5 separate regions of the Homo sapiens genome follow, and regions 1, 3, 4 and 5 are each linked to region 2. The links are contacts of gene promoters, found by promoter capture Hi-C in blood cells and fetal thymus (Javierre and others, 2016). All regions are on one chromosome and are shown on one strand. The core of a region is centred on a gene start or on the middle of the fragment in contact, and the rest is flanking DNA. Distances in the headings are between cores, read along the strand shown. Region 1 overlaps ARHGAP26 (Rho GTPase activating protein 26). Region 2 holds the start of TCERG1 (transcription elongation regulator 1). Region 3 holds the start of NR3C1 (nuclear receptor subfamily 3 group C member 1). Region 4 holds the start of TCOF1 (treacle ribosome biogenesis factor 1). Region 5 overlaps RNF14 (ring finger protein 14).

Region 1 (2,700 bases), core at 86-2,585, 3.4 Mb after region 2:
ATATGGTTTGGGTGGGGCTGATCCCAACTCCATCTTCAGGTTTGTTGCATGTGATCCAGACTATGCATCCTACTGCACATATGATTGGCCCAAGCCAAACTCAGCCGATGACACTCACTCATTTTTTATTACAACTATGGGAAATGAGGCCTTGTGTTGCTAGGAAAACAGGATGCATACCTGAAGCTTTTGAGGCCAACTTCGGCTACCACACAGGCAAAGCCTTGAGCAGAAAAGGTCAAACAAAGAAATGCAGGGCCATGAATGAAGGGACATGGGATTCTGATGGTATCATTTGAGCCCTTTTATCTTAACATATCAGAAGCTCATCCCTGCTCTTTCTATAGTATATCAATAACATACTTTTTATTTTTTAGTTGTGTTTCTGTTGCTCACAGACAAGGGTTGTGGTAATTTTTTTTTTAAGTGCATGACAGAAAAGCCTACTTGTGCTTTATAGGGAACTCTAGAGTGAAGGAGAAAAATGTGCAACAAAGTTGAACGAGAAACTGTGCTGTCATCCTTGAATTTCCCATTCCTTCTACCTCACATATCCAATCAGTTCCTAGTTGTATCACTTCTATTACTTTCATATGTCTTGAACCTATTCCTCATCCCCACTTCTTCTTCTATTGCCCAAGGTCAGATTGTTTTTGCCTTCTCACCTAGACCTTGACATTGGCTATATCCTGGTTCTTGTTGGCTCCACCCTCTGGCTCTGCTCACTTGCTCTGCAAGATGTGTTTCCCTAAACCACAGTGTTGGTTGGAGAAGAGAAGGCTTCAAAACATCACAATACCAGTCTTCAGATTCTCAAAGGGCAGTGATGTGACAAAGGGGAAATCTTATTGTGCTGAACAGAGATGAAGGTCAGGGTGGAGTCCCCAGGAAGGCAGATTTCAGCCGAACATAAATGACTGACAGGAGCTCTTCATGGTCCACTAAAGCAGGAGGCTGACCCAGCATCCTCTTACACACAGACCTAAGCCCCCTTCTGTCTAGAAGGCATCCCGGGCATTCCTGGGCTGATTAATTTCGCTGCATTTGGGGTTTAATCATTGTCAGCCTAACCCTTTCACTGGTATAGGCCCTGGACAGATTCCAAAACAGGGAGAAATGGATTTGGATGAAGTTGAGTCAAGTGGTGGATGGAGCATGCTGTGGCTTTGGAAACTTGGCATTAAGGTCTGTGTTAAAGCAAACTAAATATGGCCTGAGAAGGACTCCATGCTCCTATATCTGAGTCCTTGTGGACTAACTGTAACCTAACTTAATAGGTAGACAAGGTTGAAAACCTAACTTAGGAAAATTTACCTATAACAACAGCTGAGTCTTGGCCAATCCCAGCAGCCATACCTCAACCACTTATACACTGATGAGTGTTCAAACTATGTTCAAATAAGGCAAACACCAAGCTGTAACCAATCCAGTTGTTTTTGTACCTTACTTCTGATTTCCGTACGTCACTTTCCTTTTTTTTTTTTTTTTTTTTTGTCTATAAATTTGTTCTGACCACGAGGCATCCCTGGAGTCTCTCTGAATGTGTGGTGATTCTGGGGGCTGCCCAATTCGCAAATTGTTCATAGCTCAATTAAACTCCTTTAAATTTAATCTGGATGAAGTTTTTATTTTGTCACCTGGTTCTACCACTTTTGAACTATGCGCCCTTAGATAATCATTCAACATTTCCGAGTCTGCTTTCTCATTGCAAAGTAGAGCTAAGTAATAATACTTATGAGAGTATTAACAGAATTTAAAATAGTTATCACAGGGACTGGAGGTGCTCAAAAACGTTATTTCCCTTTTCCTTACTCCACAAATATTTCCTAACTTACTTGATGGCTGCAGACAACCTTAATCTCTCGTTTCTTTGATCTCTTACTGCTCCTACAGTCTATATTCTACAGAATTTAATACTTCCAAATAAAATTTTTCATTCTTATCATTTCCAATCTCCAATCAAGGTTAATTTTACATTTCTATGGGGCAGGGTTTAGGGGAAGTGATCTATGCGGCATCTAAATGTTTGCATATATTCAGTGTCCAAGAAATTATTCCTCATTAAAGGACAAGGGGCTTAAGGATGCGCATTCCTTCGTCTGGGTCTTTCTCTGCAGGTCAGAGGCAGGTCATGATGACCTTGATGAGCAAATTATCCTTATGGCAATGCTTTCACATTTTGAGTGTCACTGGCACTTACCGCAGTTCTCTGTGAGAAATTTCAAATTAAGCTGATATAGTTTCAAGAGAAAAGGTGAAACAGCTCCTCCTGGAGCATGTAGGTGGTAGGTCACACCCCAATAACCAGTGAAGGAGTAGGCCATTTATTTTAACTTGTTTTTGGTTCTGGTGAATTAGGCACAGGCTAACTGTTCTGGGATTATTAACACTGATTGTTGTGGGTGCTTCTCCTCCGCTACCCCGTGACTTTGATTTGTGTGTTACATAAACACTGTTGCCATAGTTATAATTCAGGAAGCTTTGTTGTTTGACCTTAAGAAAAATTCAACCTCAAATCAGGATAACACTGACTCTCTAGACCACAATAGACCATCAGAGGGTAGGATCTGCCAAATTTCTTCAAGCTTCTAGAAGGAACTACTGTATTTTGGGTAACAAGCAAGCAACAAGAGGAGGAAATGCTGCAATGTTATGCAATTTCCTTGCATTTCATATTCAGCAATCCTGAAAACCTTTATA
Region 2 (2,700 bases), core at 178-2,677:
TACATATGGAGTTTAAAGGATTTCAGATTCATCTCTGAAATAAAACAAAATTTCATTTCTGCCAAAGTGGAGATTTGTGTGTGCGACCATACAGAATCTGAAAGGCATTTTCCTCTTCTAAAACCTTGAATAACAATACCCATTTCCTTACACAATTTCATCTTAAGTTCAAGACAGTATCAACAGAGTCTTCATAATCTACCCTGCTCTTTTTCATTTTCAAACGTTGACAACAGCACAATTCAGAATGGGAGCTGAACATCTGAAATGCCATTTCTCCCATACAGAAAAAAACCAAAGTACCAAATACACATAAAGCATAATACCTCTTTTCCTCAAAAACCACTGACCAAAAGATTTCTCCAGGTCACTCTCATTTTACCAAATTTTAATTACAAACTCATAGACACTGAGGTTCCAGGGGAAAAAAAGGTCACTGCACTGTTCAAGGAAATGGCATGAGTAGTAGACGAATAGAACGCCAATTGGGATTGCAGGCTCTGAAACCTGACTGCCTGAGTTCAAGCCACTTCCTGGAGCCACAAATCCGCCTATGCAATCTTATTCTACTGACTCAACCTCCACGAGGCTGTTATCTCACCTGTAAGATGGGCGAGTAACAACTGAAGACCCCTCTGGTCTGTGGCCTGCAAAATGTTAATAGCAACTACTCCAAAGGGTGGTTGTGAGGATTAAATGAGACAAACCTAAGTAAAGGGTTTACTGGCACACGGTAAGTGCCTAATAAGGGGTTGCTACTGTTGTTGTTACTCACAACTACAGGATAATAAGGAATAAAGGGATGAAAAAAGGAAGAAAAGCCACAGAAGTTAAGAAAGGCAAGCAATGAGGGGGATGAAATGAAAGGGCAAACGTGGGGAGCCCAAAGAGCCGCGGAGGGCGTGGAGAAGGCTTAGCCAGAAGTGGCGAGGGGTACAGGGAAAGTAACTGCGGAGTGCAGAGACGTCGATGAGGAAAATCAGGCCCGCAGCGGAGCGCGGCCTGGGGACAGACTCAGGTCGGCCGAGACGGAGGCGACACGCGGCTGAGGCGGGGCCCAAAGGCGGGAGCACCGCGCCCGGCCAGAGGGCTGCAGGCCGCGAGAGGCGGCGAGGCCCCAAGAAAGCACTAGGAAGCAGCCAGGGAACGCGCAGGAGGCCCTGGCCCAGCCCGGGCCCGGCTCTCATTCAAGCCACCTTCCCCTTCCCCCTTCTTAAACCCCATGCGGTCCCGGCCCGGGCCGCCCGGCTCCGCTACCCACCGTCCGCCCCGGATCTCCACATGGCAGGTCTAGCGTCTAGCCTCTGGGGCTCTCGTGAGCAGAGATGTGAAGGAGGGCAGCGTTCCTTACCTGAGCTCCCCCGGGTTGAATCGTTCACTCTCGCCCCCGTCCCCGCCACGCTCCGCCATTACAGAGGGCCGCGTTCATCCACCCGCCGACCCGACGTCTCCTATTGGCTAGAAAAATCGTCAATCCCCAACGAGAGAGGCGGAGACAGCAGAAGTCTGAGATGCGGTTGGTCAAACTTTCCATCAATCTTCGAAATGGGGGCGATATGTTCTTTGCTATTGGGCAAGGCGCCCGCCGACTTTGAAAGCGGTATGAAGACAGCCAGTTGATTGGTGACTCGGGGGCTTTATGGGAAATGAGATTTTAGCAGTGAGGAACCGCCGGCGCCCTCTCGCGGTAAGCAGAACTAAGTCCTCCCAAGTTCGGCTCAGCCTGCGGTAGCCACGTGTCTGTCGGCTTCCAGGAGAGCCAATTGTGGAGCCATATTGGCCAGTAGTAGCTCAGGCGGAGAGCATTTCCACTGGGCAAGCCAATCAAAATCGACCTGGGCCGCGCCTAAACCGATTGCACAGTTGCTGTGGAAAGCCGCTATTTCCTAGCTTTACAGTAGCAGGAGTCTTAAGTCACCACTCAGCTCTATATCCATGTTATTAAATAATATATTATTAATTACAAGAATACCTCCCAAATTATACTAAACCGTTGCAAGCCAATAGGTGTTATAAGTTGCTGCATTAAGAAAGGTAAATTGGCGAAGGCAAGCCTCTTTGCAATTTACAGCTTAACCACGTCTCCCTCGATCTCAAAATGTGCTTGTCTGAAATTAGCACACCCAGAATACCAGACAATTCTGAATATTTATTTAGTTTTTCTAATTAACAAAAAAAAAAGTTTTGGATTTGGGGTTTCAAAGGCACAATGAAGATGAGCCCTTTTATTAAAGTCGTAAAAATATTAAAATAATACTAATAGATAAATTTTACTTGGACCTAACCATGTAGCAAACCCGGATCTAAGTATGTCAGGTACGTTAACTCTTTTAAGATTCAAAAATTGCTAGGAGGTGGGTAACATAGTCACTGTTTGTAGATGAGCTTGAGGCACAGAGAAGTTAAGTAACTTGCCCAAGGTCACACATCTACTAAATAGCAGAGCCTGGTCTTAACCCCAGTCAGCGTAGTAGCAAAGCAGCACTCTTAAATACTGTAAGCCTAAATAATTGGATCCACATAAAAACATGTGCACAAATGTTCACAGCAGCAATATTCATAATAGCCAAAAAGTATTGTAACAACCCAATGACCATCAGCTGATGCATGGTTAAGAAGCATGGTATAGGCCGGGCGCGGTGGCCCAAACCTGTAATCCCAGCACTTTGGGAGGCCTAGACGGGCGGATCACGAGGTCAG
Region 3 (2,797 bases), core at 298-2,797, 3.0 Mb after region 2:
TTAATTATATACATATATATGTATATAATATATATGTGTATACATATGTATACATACATGTATATATAAATAGAATTCTTAATCATTTTAAGCAGTGTACAAGGATAATTATTAGCATGGGCTATTTAACTCACTTTTAAAACGTGTAAAACATTATTGTAGGGTTGGGTCTTGATTTGTTTCCCATGAAACTGTTGGTAGTTTAGGGGCCAAATTAACGAAAGACATCTCATTCTAGTGCTTGAGGCTCAGAAATTGGAAAAACGGGCAACTAGGTCAAGCAGTGTTCTCATAGCCTCACAGATGAGCATCCAAAGCAAGGGCCTCCTTCTAGTTGACTTGTGCCAAGGGACAGGAGAAGCGGAGTCTGCCTTCTGGGTCCAGAAGGGGGTTTTGTTAACATGGAGTTGCTCAGCGCCCTTCATAAAAATTCTTCTGGCTGAGGGTTCTACGTTGGCATACGGTTGGTTCCCTCTTCTTTTCCGAGGTGGCGAGTATCTCTTCCTTTGCCAAGATGGCGGCTCCAGAATCCTCTGGAGGCGGCCCCCGTAGATCGTCTCCGGACAAGAGGCTTGCTGAAAGCCTACTTCTTTCCTTTCACATCAGACAATGCACAGGGAACCGTTTACCCTTGAGAACCAAGGAAGGACGGCTTAGGCTACCCGCGATCGCGAACCTTTGCCAAGATGGTGGCCGCGGGGACGGGCTGGCGACACTGTACCCTACCAAGATGGCGGCGGGCGGCTTCCGGGACGCGCTTCCCCAATCGTCTTCAAGATGTCAGAGCAGGGGGAGCCGCCGTCAGTCTGAGCGCGGCGGGAGGTGAGAGAGTGGCTGTGGCCGAGCGCCCGAGCAGGATTAGGTGGAGCTGCGGCAGCCCCCGCCCGTGTCAGGAGCTGGCAAGCGATGTCACCTGTGGGGGCGCAAAAGTTACCTCCCCAAACCCTAAACCCACACAGCACAACCTTTCCCAGAGTCACAAAAATCATAATCTGTGCCGCACAAGGTAGGAGGCTCGGTCCCGGCATCGTCCAAGCCTTCCCGACGCGGCGAGCTGGGGAAGGGAGCTGGGGCGGGGGCTTCCCGCACGGGCACCCCTCGCCCCACGGCCCTCTCCTTTCTCAGGACGGACCACGAGTTCCCTTCCCCTTGGACTGAGGGGGAAGCTCCTAACAGGAACATCTGTAGGGAGTTGAACGCTGGCATTTTAAAGCTGCCTGTATTTTGTTTTATTTGTAGGGGCAGGGGTCCTATGAACGTGATAGGGTGAGCAACGCACAGAGTCGAGGGCAGCAAATGTCAAGATTCGGGGGTGGGGCCTGCACCGGGAACTTGGACGCGGGCCCTGGCCGGGGTGGAAGAAGAGGTCAGGAGTTTCGGAAGGGGGGCTATATTTCGCCAGCAACTTACTATTTCGCCTGCAACTTGCTTTTAAGCCTGCCGCCCCCTGCTTTCCTTAATCATAATAATAAAAAAAAAGTGCAAAGAAATCCAGCTCGCTGGAGGTTTTGCATTTGGCGTGCAACTTCCTTCGAGTGTGAGCACATTGGGCGGGAGGGGTGGGGGTTGAACTTGGCAGGCGGCGCCTCCTTCTGCCGCCGCCGCCGCCTCGCAGACTCGGGGAAGAGGGTGGGGGACGGTCGGGGCGCGGGGGAGGGTGGGTTCTGCTTTGCAACTTCTCTCCCAGTGCGAGAGCGCGGCGGCGGCAGCTGAAGACCCGGCCGCCCAGATGATGCGGTGGTGGGGGACCTGCCGGCACGCGACTCCCCCCGGGCCCAAAGTACGTATGCGCCGACCCCCGCTATCCCGTCCCTTCCCTGAAGCCTCCCCAGAGGGCGTGTCAGGCCGCCCGGCCCCGAGCGCGGCCGAGACGCTGCGGCACCGTTTCCGTGCAACCCCGTAGCCCCTTTCGAAGTGACACACTTCACGCAACTCGGCCCGGCGGCGGCGGCGCGGGCCACTCACGCAGCTCAGCCGCGGGAGGCGCCCCGGCTCTTGTGGCCCGCCCGCTGTCACCCGCAGGGGCACTGGCGGCGCTTGCCGCCAAGGGGCAGAGCGAGCTCCCGAGTGGGTCTGGAGCCGCGGAGCTGGGCGGGGGCGGGAAGGAGGTAGCGAGAAAAGAAACTGGAGAAACTCGGTGGCCCTCTTAACGCCGCCCCAGAGAGACCAGGTCGGCCCCCGCCGCTGCCGCCGCCACCCTTTTTCCTGGGGAGTTGGGGGCGGGGGGCGAAGCGCGGCGCACCGGGCGGGGCGGCCACGCCAGGGGACGCGGGCGTGCAGGCGCCGTCGGGGCCGGGGTGGCGGGGCCCGCGCGGAGGGCGTGGGGGCAGGGACCGCGGGCGCCCCTGCAGTTGCCAAGCGTCACCAACAGGTTGCATCGTTCCCCGCGGCCGCCGCGCGGCCCCTCGGGCGGGGAGCGGCCGGGGGTGGAGTGGGAGCGCGTGTGTGCGAGTGTGTGCGCGCCGTGGCGCCGCCTCCACCCGCTCCCCGCTCGGTCCCGCTCGCTCGCCCAGGCCGGGCTGCCCTTTCGCGTGTCCGCGCTCTCTTCCCTCCGCCGCCGCCTCCTCCATTTTGCGAGCTCGTGTCTGTGACGGGAGCCCGAGTCACCGCCTGCCCGTCGGGGACGGATTCTGTGGGTGGAAGGAGACGCCGCAGCCGGAGCGGCCGAAGCAGCTGGGACCGGGACGGGGCACGCGCGCCCGGAACCTCGACCCGCGGAGCCCGGCGCGGGGCGGAGGGCTGGCTTGTCAGCTGGGCAATGGGAGACTTTCTTAAATAGGGGCTCTCCCCCCACCCA
Region 4 (2,700 bases), core at 172-2,671, 3.9 Mb before region 2:
GCCTCGGCCTCCCAAAGTGCTGGGATTACAGGCGTGAGCTACCGTACCTGGCCTGCTATGGACTTAAAAAAAATTTTTTTTTGAGACAGTGTCTTGCTCTGTTGCCCAGGCTGGAGTGCAGTGGCATGATCATGGCTCATACTGTATCCTCAAATTCCTGGGCTCAAGAGAGTGGACTTTCTCCAGGCCAGTGTGTACACAAGTTCCCTCCCACCACAAGGCATTTACACCTCAGCTATTCCTGACCAGGGCAATCTGCCATCCATCTCTCTTTTTTTTTTGAGGCAGAGTCTCGCTTTATCGCCCAGGCTGGAGTGCAGTGGCACGATCTTGACTCATTGCAACCTCTGCCTCCCGGGTTCAAGCAATTCTTGTGCCTCAGCCACATGAGTAGCCAGGATTACAGGCGTGCGCCAACATGCCCAGCTAATTTTTGTATTTTTAGTAGAAACGGTGTTTCACCATGTTGGCCAGGCTGGTCTCGAACTTCTGACCTCAGGTGATCCGCTAGTCTCGGCCTCCCTAAGTGCTGGGATTACAGGCGTGAGCTACCGTGCCCGGCCCATCCCTCTCATTCTTAACACTTATTGCGGTGCTAAGCATATAGTCACTTTTGTGATTCTTTGATTTGTCTACCTTACTAGAGTGTAAGCTCCAGGAGGGCTGAGAGATGGTGCTCACCATTCGAACACCAGGAAGCACCCTGAGTACCGGATTAACAGTTGAATTAATCAAGTAAGAAATGACTGTACCACGAGTTCGAGTACCAAAGCTGACCGTCTCAGTACAGACAATCGCTAAAGGCCTGAGTTCCAGCTCAACTAAGAGGCTGTAGGGTCCCTTTTCCAGGCGCTCCCCCGAGGGGCTGGTCGCAATCCACCCCCGAGACTCGCAGCAACCTCCTTGCCCCAGGGGGGGCCGCGCAGAGCCTAGCCACGTGGCGGGAGACTTAGGAAACTTAAAATACCCGCTACCAGGAAGGGCGTGGAGGTAAGGGAAGCGGGAATTACAAAGTTCGGCCCCTGCGAGCACACTTTCTGGCCCAACCCACTGCCCGGATGAGGAAAGTGAGGCCCAGGGGAACTGAAGTCGCAGTGGGAAGGCAGAGATTGCGGCTCCTCCGGTACCCCTGGCCGCGCCGTCGAGCACTGCGGGACCCGGCTCCGGGCGCCTGCCGGGTCGCCTGGGGACGGGGCGCGGGCCGCGGGCCGCTGATCTCCACATCTTGCACGCGGCCCTCGCACACGGCCCACGAACGCTTACCTGGCCGCTCTGCTCCTTCACTTCCCGCGCCGCACGCACATAGCCAGCCCGCAGCAGATGGTGGTAGATCAGGGGAAGTAGCTCCCGCCGCTTCCTGGCCTCGGCCATACCCGCGACCCCCGGCCGGCCGGCTACCTGCACGCCCCGCCTTAGTCCCCGCCCGCCACTTCCCTCGCGCCCTTAGACCTCGCGCGCCACACTTCCGGCTCCTCTTTCGCTCCGGCCGCGCGGCGCGCCGGGAAACGTAGTCCCCTCTCCGGGAGTGGCCGGCCCCGCCCCTCAAGGCGAAGGGGGCGGAGACTCGTGATCAACAATACCGCCCATTGGCGCGGAGCATGCGGGGCTAGACAGGGACCCGCCCCCGGGGCCGGCCGGGACTTGGACGACTCTCTTTTAATCCTTCCGGCTGGCTTCTTGAAGAGATTTATCTTCCTTGTTAATTCTCTGATGGCTGGGTCTGCGTTTTACTCATCTCTGAACTCCCTAATCTGGATCTTTCTCTAGATCCGAACTTTGTACTGCCATTACCTGCTCATTTATCCATTTCGCACGGTTTTTGGTGCCCATGAACCAGACACGAATTGCCAGTTTATTCATTGATTCATTCGCTAACTGAACAAATCTGTAATAAGCACCTAACTTGGGCTAGCACCCGGCTAGGCTAGGGGGATTCAAAAGATGCATAATACATGGCAGTTGCCCTCAAAGCTCACAGAGACGACTGTCCGTAACCAAGCAACTATAGTTCAATATCTTGTGTGCCTTGTCAGGGACAGATGCAGCCTATGGGCGCCCCAAGGAGGAGCACCGAACCCCAGAGAGATATCTAAGCTGAGGCATAAAGACACCCGAAATTGCTGGGTGCAAAGGAGAGGACTGGCAGAGGGCACTGCATGAGTCTAGGCATGAGAAAACACCCTGCTATTGCCTGGGAACCCTAAACCCAGAACCCCTAGTCTGCGCTGCTGGGCTGTCCAGGTGGGGTGGGGTGAGGTGGGGAAGAGGGAACAAATGAGGGCACATGAGGATGAAGAAGTAGACAAGGCCTACAACTCCCCCACCCCCAACAGAGTTTGGACTTTGCTCTGAGGGCATTAGATAGTCTCTGACTGGCTTTTCCGAGGAGGTTGACCCTGTTTTGTGTTTTTAAAAGATTGCTAAAACCAAAGCACATACCATTAATACTAAATGTGAGGCTGTTGTAGTTGTTGAGGGAAGGATGGCAGGGAAAAGGTGAGGTAGGCTGGAGAATGTTAGAGTGAGCTGTTCTTAACTTCACCGACCCATTGAGAATCTGAGGGCAGCATGTTTCTTACGGGCGCAGGAGTCCCTAACCCTAGGAGGTCCAGGTATGTGGTTATCTTTGTCTTGAACTTGAATGGAAAATGTTATGTGTCTGTACACATTCAACATTTCCCATTTTCTTGAGCAAATATT
Region 5 (2,700 bases), core at 90-2,589, 4.5 Mb after region 2:
CTTTCTTAAGTTAATTTGCCAGGCGCGGTGGCTCGTGCCTGTAATCCCAACACTTTGGTAGGCCGAGGCGGGCAAATCACCTGCAGTCAGGAGTTCGAGACCAGCCTGGCCAACGTGGTGAAACCCCATCTCTACTAAAAATACAAAAATTAGCTGGGTGTGGTGGCTCACCCCTGTAATCCCAGCTACTCGGGAGGTTGAGGCAGGAGAACTGCTTGAACGTGGGAGGCAGAGGTTGCAGTGAGCTGAGATTGCACCATTGCACTCCAGCCTGGGCGACAGAGTCAGACTCTGTCTCAAAAAAACAAAAAAGTAAATTTTTTAAATCCACAGGAATCTTTAGGGCAAGTTTTCTTAGCTTCAGCTCTATTGACATTTTGAAGTAAATAATTGTTGTTGGAGAGCTGTGTTGTGCATTATAGAATCTTAACAGCATCCCCTGGCTTTTACCCACTAGATACCCAATAGTGGCCCGCTTCCACCCACAAGAGCTGTGACAACTGAAAATATCTAGCCAGGTGTGGTGGTGCTTGCCTGTGGTCCCAGCTACTTGGGGAGCTGACATGGGAGGATCACTTGAGCCTGGGAGGTCGAGGCTGCAGTGAGCCATGATAGCACCACTGCACTCCAGCCTGAGTGACAAAGTGGGACCCTGTCTCAAAAAAAAAAATATCTCCAAATAGCGCCAGGTCCTGGGGCAGGATGGGGGTTGGAGGCAAAATTGCTCCCAGGTGAGAAAACAGTGCTTGAGAATGTTACAGGCATAGATATTATGGAAGAAAATTAGATAACTGAGCAAGCAGCAAAATAATATTAAATTTTTGAAATAATAGATTTTGTCAAATCCAAGCAGTCACCAATTTAAAGATTCACCATTATGACTCAAGAATATTTAAAAGATAATAATTTTAAGAAAGATTTACCATTATTTTAGGTAATACTAAGAATTTAGCTACAAGGCCCAGGCACAGTGGCTCAAGTCTTTAATCCCAGCACTTTGGGAGACCAAGGCAGGCAGATCACTTGAGGCCAAGAGTTCAAGACTAGCCTGGCCAACACAGCAAAACCCCATCTCTACTAAAAATAAAAAAATTAGCCGGGCATTGTGGTACACGCATGTAATCCCAGCTACTCGGTGGCTGAGGCACGAGACTAGAGAATCACTAGAATCCAGGAGGCAGAGGTTGCAGTGAGCTGAGATTGCACCACTGCATTCCAGCCTGGGTGACAGAGACAGACTCTGTCTCCAAAAAAAAAAAAAAAAAAAAAAGGAAAGAAAGAAAGAAGAAAGAAAGGAAAGAAAGAAAGAAAGAAAGAAAGAAAGAAAGAAAGAAAGAAAGAAAAAGAAATTAGCTACAATTAAAGTATGAACTGGCTGGATATGGTGGCTCATGCCCGTAATCCCAGCACTTTGGGAGGCCAAGGCAGGAGGATCACTTGAGGCCAGCAGTTTGAGATCAGCCTTGGCAACATAGCAAGATCCTGTCTCTATAAAAAATTAGCCAGGTGTGGTGGTGTGTGCCTGTAGTCCCAGCTACTCAGGAGACTGTGGCAGGAGGATCGCTTGAGCCTTGGATGCTGAGGCTGCAGTGAGCCGTGTTTGCACCACTGCACTCCAGCCTGGGGGACAGAGCAAGACCTTGTCTCAAAAAATAAAGTATGAATCAATGTTTTTTAAAATAGCATCAACTGAAAGATACAGCAATTTCAGATAATTTAAATGTGAAAAAAATATGCAATGAGAATTTACAAAAATCATTTTAATAAAACAAAACTACCAGTCAATTAAAATATTGAACTACAATTGCATTTGCAAATATCCTCCCTCACAACTAAAATATTTTTAATTAAAATGTACATAAGTAAAAAGTTAGGATTTTTTACATTTTAAAAGGTCATACTATGAAATTAAAAATGATTTCATTTTCAAAAAACACTTTTTTTCTAGGAGATGTTAGTTCATGGCTCTGCTTAAGCTGCATCCCTATCTAAGACACAATTACATGTTCTACTTGAGGTCAGTTAGTACCTGTTAATAACAATCAGAAGAAAAGGATATTAACACCGCAGTCTGTATTTCAGCTCAGAGTGGAGTTCATGCAAATCCCATTTATTCTCTAACTGGTGGAGCTGAGACTGCTGAAGCTGGGTAAGAGGCCAAGATGTGGAACTCATACTACATATATTATGAAAATCCTGCCATCTGCAGAAAAGAAATACAAAAGATGGTGTTAGGACCCTCTCCAAATTAAAATTCTGAATTTCCATGATCACTGCTTAAGTCAAACATATCCTAACATATAGCCAATCCTAATCTACAAGTGCATGTTACTCTCCTAGGGCAGGCTAACTGAGCCATGTGGTTAAAGGAGTATTTGCATGTCCCCAGCAATGACTGAGGACTTTTTATCTGTCTGCCCTCAGCTATGGGAGGAGCTAAGGAGGAACACCAAGGTCATATGAAAGTACAGGACACCATGCCCCATAACAAACAATCTCTTCAGTTTGTTTTTTGTTTTGTTTTTTTCTCCTTTCCTCTTCTGCTTCTTGTATTCCTTCATTTGCCACTCCCCTCCAGTTTTTCCTCTCTTGTTCATGAATTAAGCCTGCCAGTGGCACTCAAGGTTAATTTTGGTAACAGAAAAATACTTAAACAAAACAAGAGTACACAAACACAAACTTTTAAGTTTTATTCTAAAT

What was found. Contacts are between HindIII fragments. The CHiCAGO score rates a contact against its expected background, and 5 or more counts as called.
Region 1: a fragment that was not itself captured here is called in contact with the fragment with the promoter of TCERG1 in region 2 in 1 of 17 cell types (naive CD8 T cells); the score reaches 5.4 in naive CD8 T cells.
Region 3: a contact is called between a fragment that was not itself captured here and the fragment with the promoter of TCERG1 in region 2, in 1 of 17 cell types (non-activated CD4 T cells). The highest score is 7.7, in non-activated CD4 T cells.
Region 4: the fragment with the promoter of TCOF1 here is called in contact with the fragment with the promoter of TCERG1 in region 2 in 1 of 17 cell types (neutrophils); the score reaches 5.1 in neutrophils.
Region 5: a contact is called between a fragment that was not itself captured here and the fragment with the promoter of TCERG1 in region 2, in 2 of 17 cell types (total B cells and naive B cells). The highest score is 8.8, in total B cells.

What each region holds. Positions count from the first base shown.
Region 1 is chr5:143,002,811-143,005,510 of GRCh38, reverse strand. All of the region lies in intron 11 of ARHGAP26 (Rho GTPase activating protein 26), which reads right to left. Among named protein-coding and RNA genes, the nearest start is that of ARHGAP26-AS1, 140 kb to the right of the region's middle. The HindIII fragment of the contact is 2,293 bases long and covers 189-2,481 here.
Region 2 is chr5:146,446,060-146,448,759 of GRCh38, reverse strand. It overlaps TCERG1 (transcription elongation regulator 1), which reads right to left and starts at 1,427. Exons shown (of 23, transcript NM_001382548.1): 1 at 1,352-1,427. The coding sequence starts at 1,410. RefSeq lists a silencer at 1,059-1,138 and an enhancer at 1,057-1,764. The HindIII fragment of the contact is 4,342 bases long and covers 1-2,700 here.
Region 3 is chr5:143,403,359-143,406,155 of GRCh38, reverse strand. It overlaps NR3C1 (nuclear receptor subfamily 3 group C member 1), which reads left to right and starts at 2,470. Exons shown (of 9, transcript NM_000176.3): 1 at 2,470-2,797. It overlaps LOC128966704, which reads left to right. Exons shown (of 2, transcript XM_054328421.1): 1 at 1-822; 2 at 1,240-1,490. The coding sequence starts at 515. The coding sequence ends at 1,270. RefSeq lists enhancers at 265-314, 35-801, 635-874, 1,275-1,414, 1,455-1,524 and 1 more and a silencer at 1,575-2,797. The HindIII fragment of the contact is 7,002 bases long and covers 1-2,797 here.
Region 4 is chr5:150,356,418-150,359,117 of GRCh38, reverse strand. TCOF1 (treacle ribosome biogenesis factor 1) reads right to left here and starts at 1,421. Exons shown (of 27, transcript NM_001371623.1): 1 at 1,264-1,421. The coding sequence starts at 1,371. It overlaps LOC105378226 (a long non-coding RNA gene), which reads left to right and starts at 1,698. Exons shown (of 4, transcript XR_944407.3): 1 at 1,698-2,612. RefSeq lists silencers at 994-1,213, 1,294-1,633 and an enhancer at 2,234-2,403. The HindIII fragment of the contact is 5,465 bases long and covers 1-2,700 here.
Region 5 is chr5:141,970,207-141,972,906 of GRCh38, reverse strand. It overlaps RNF14 (ring finger protein 14), which reads right to left. Exons shown (of 9, transcript NM_004290.5): 2 at 2,030-2,203. Among named protein-coding and RNA genes, the nearest start is that of RNF14, 2.5 kb to the right of the region's middle. The HindIII fragment of the contact is 3,286 bases long and covers 1-2,700 here.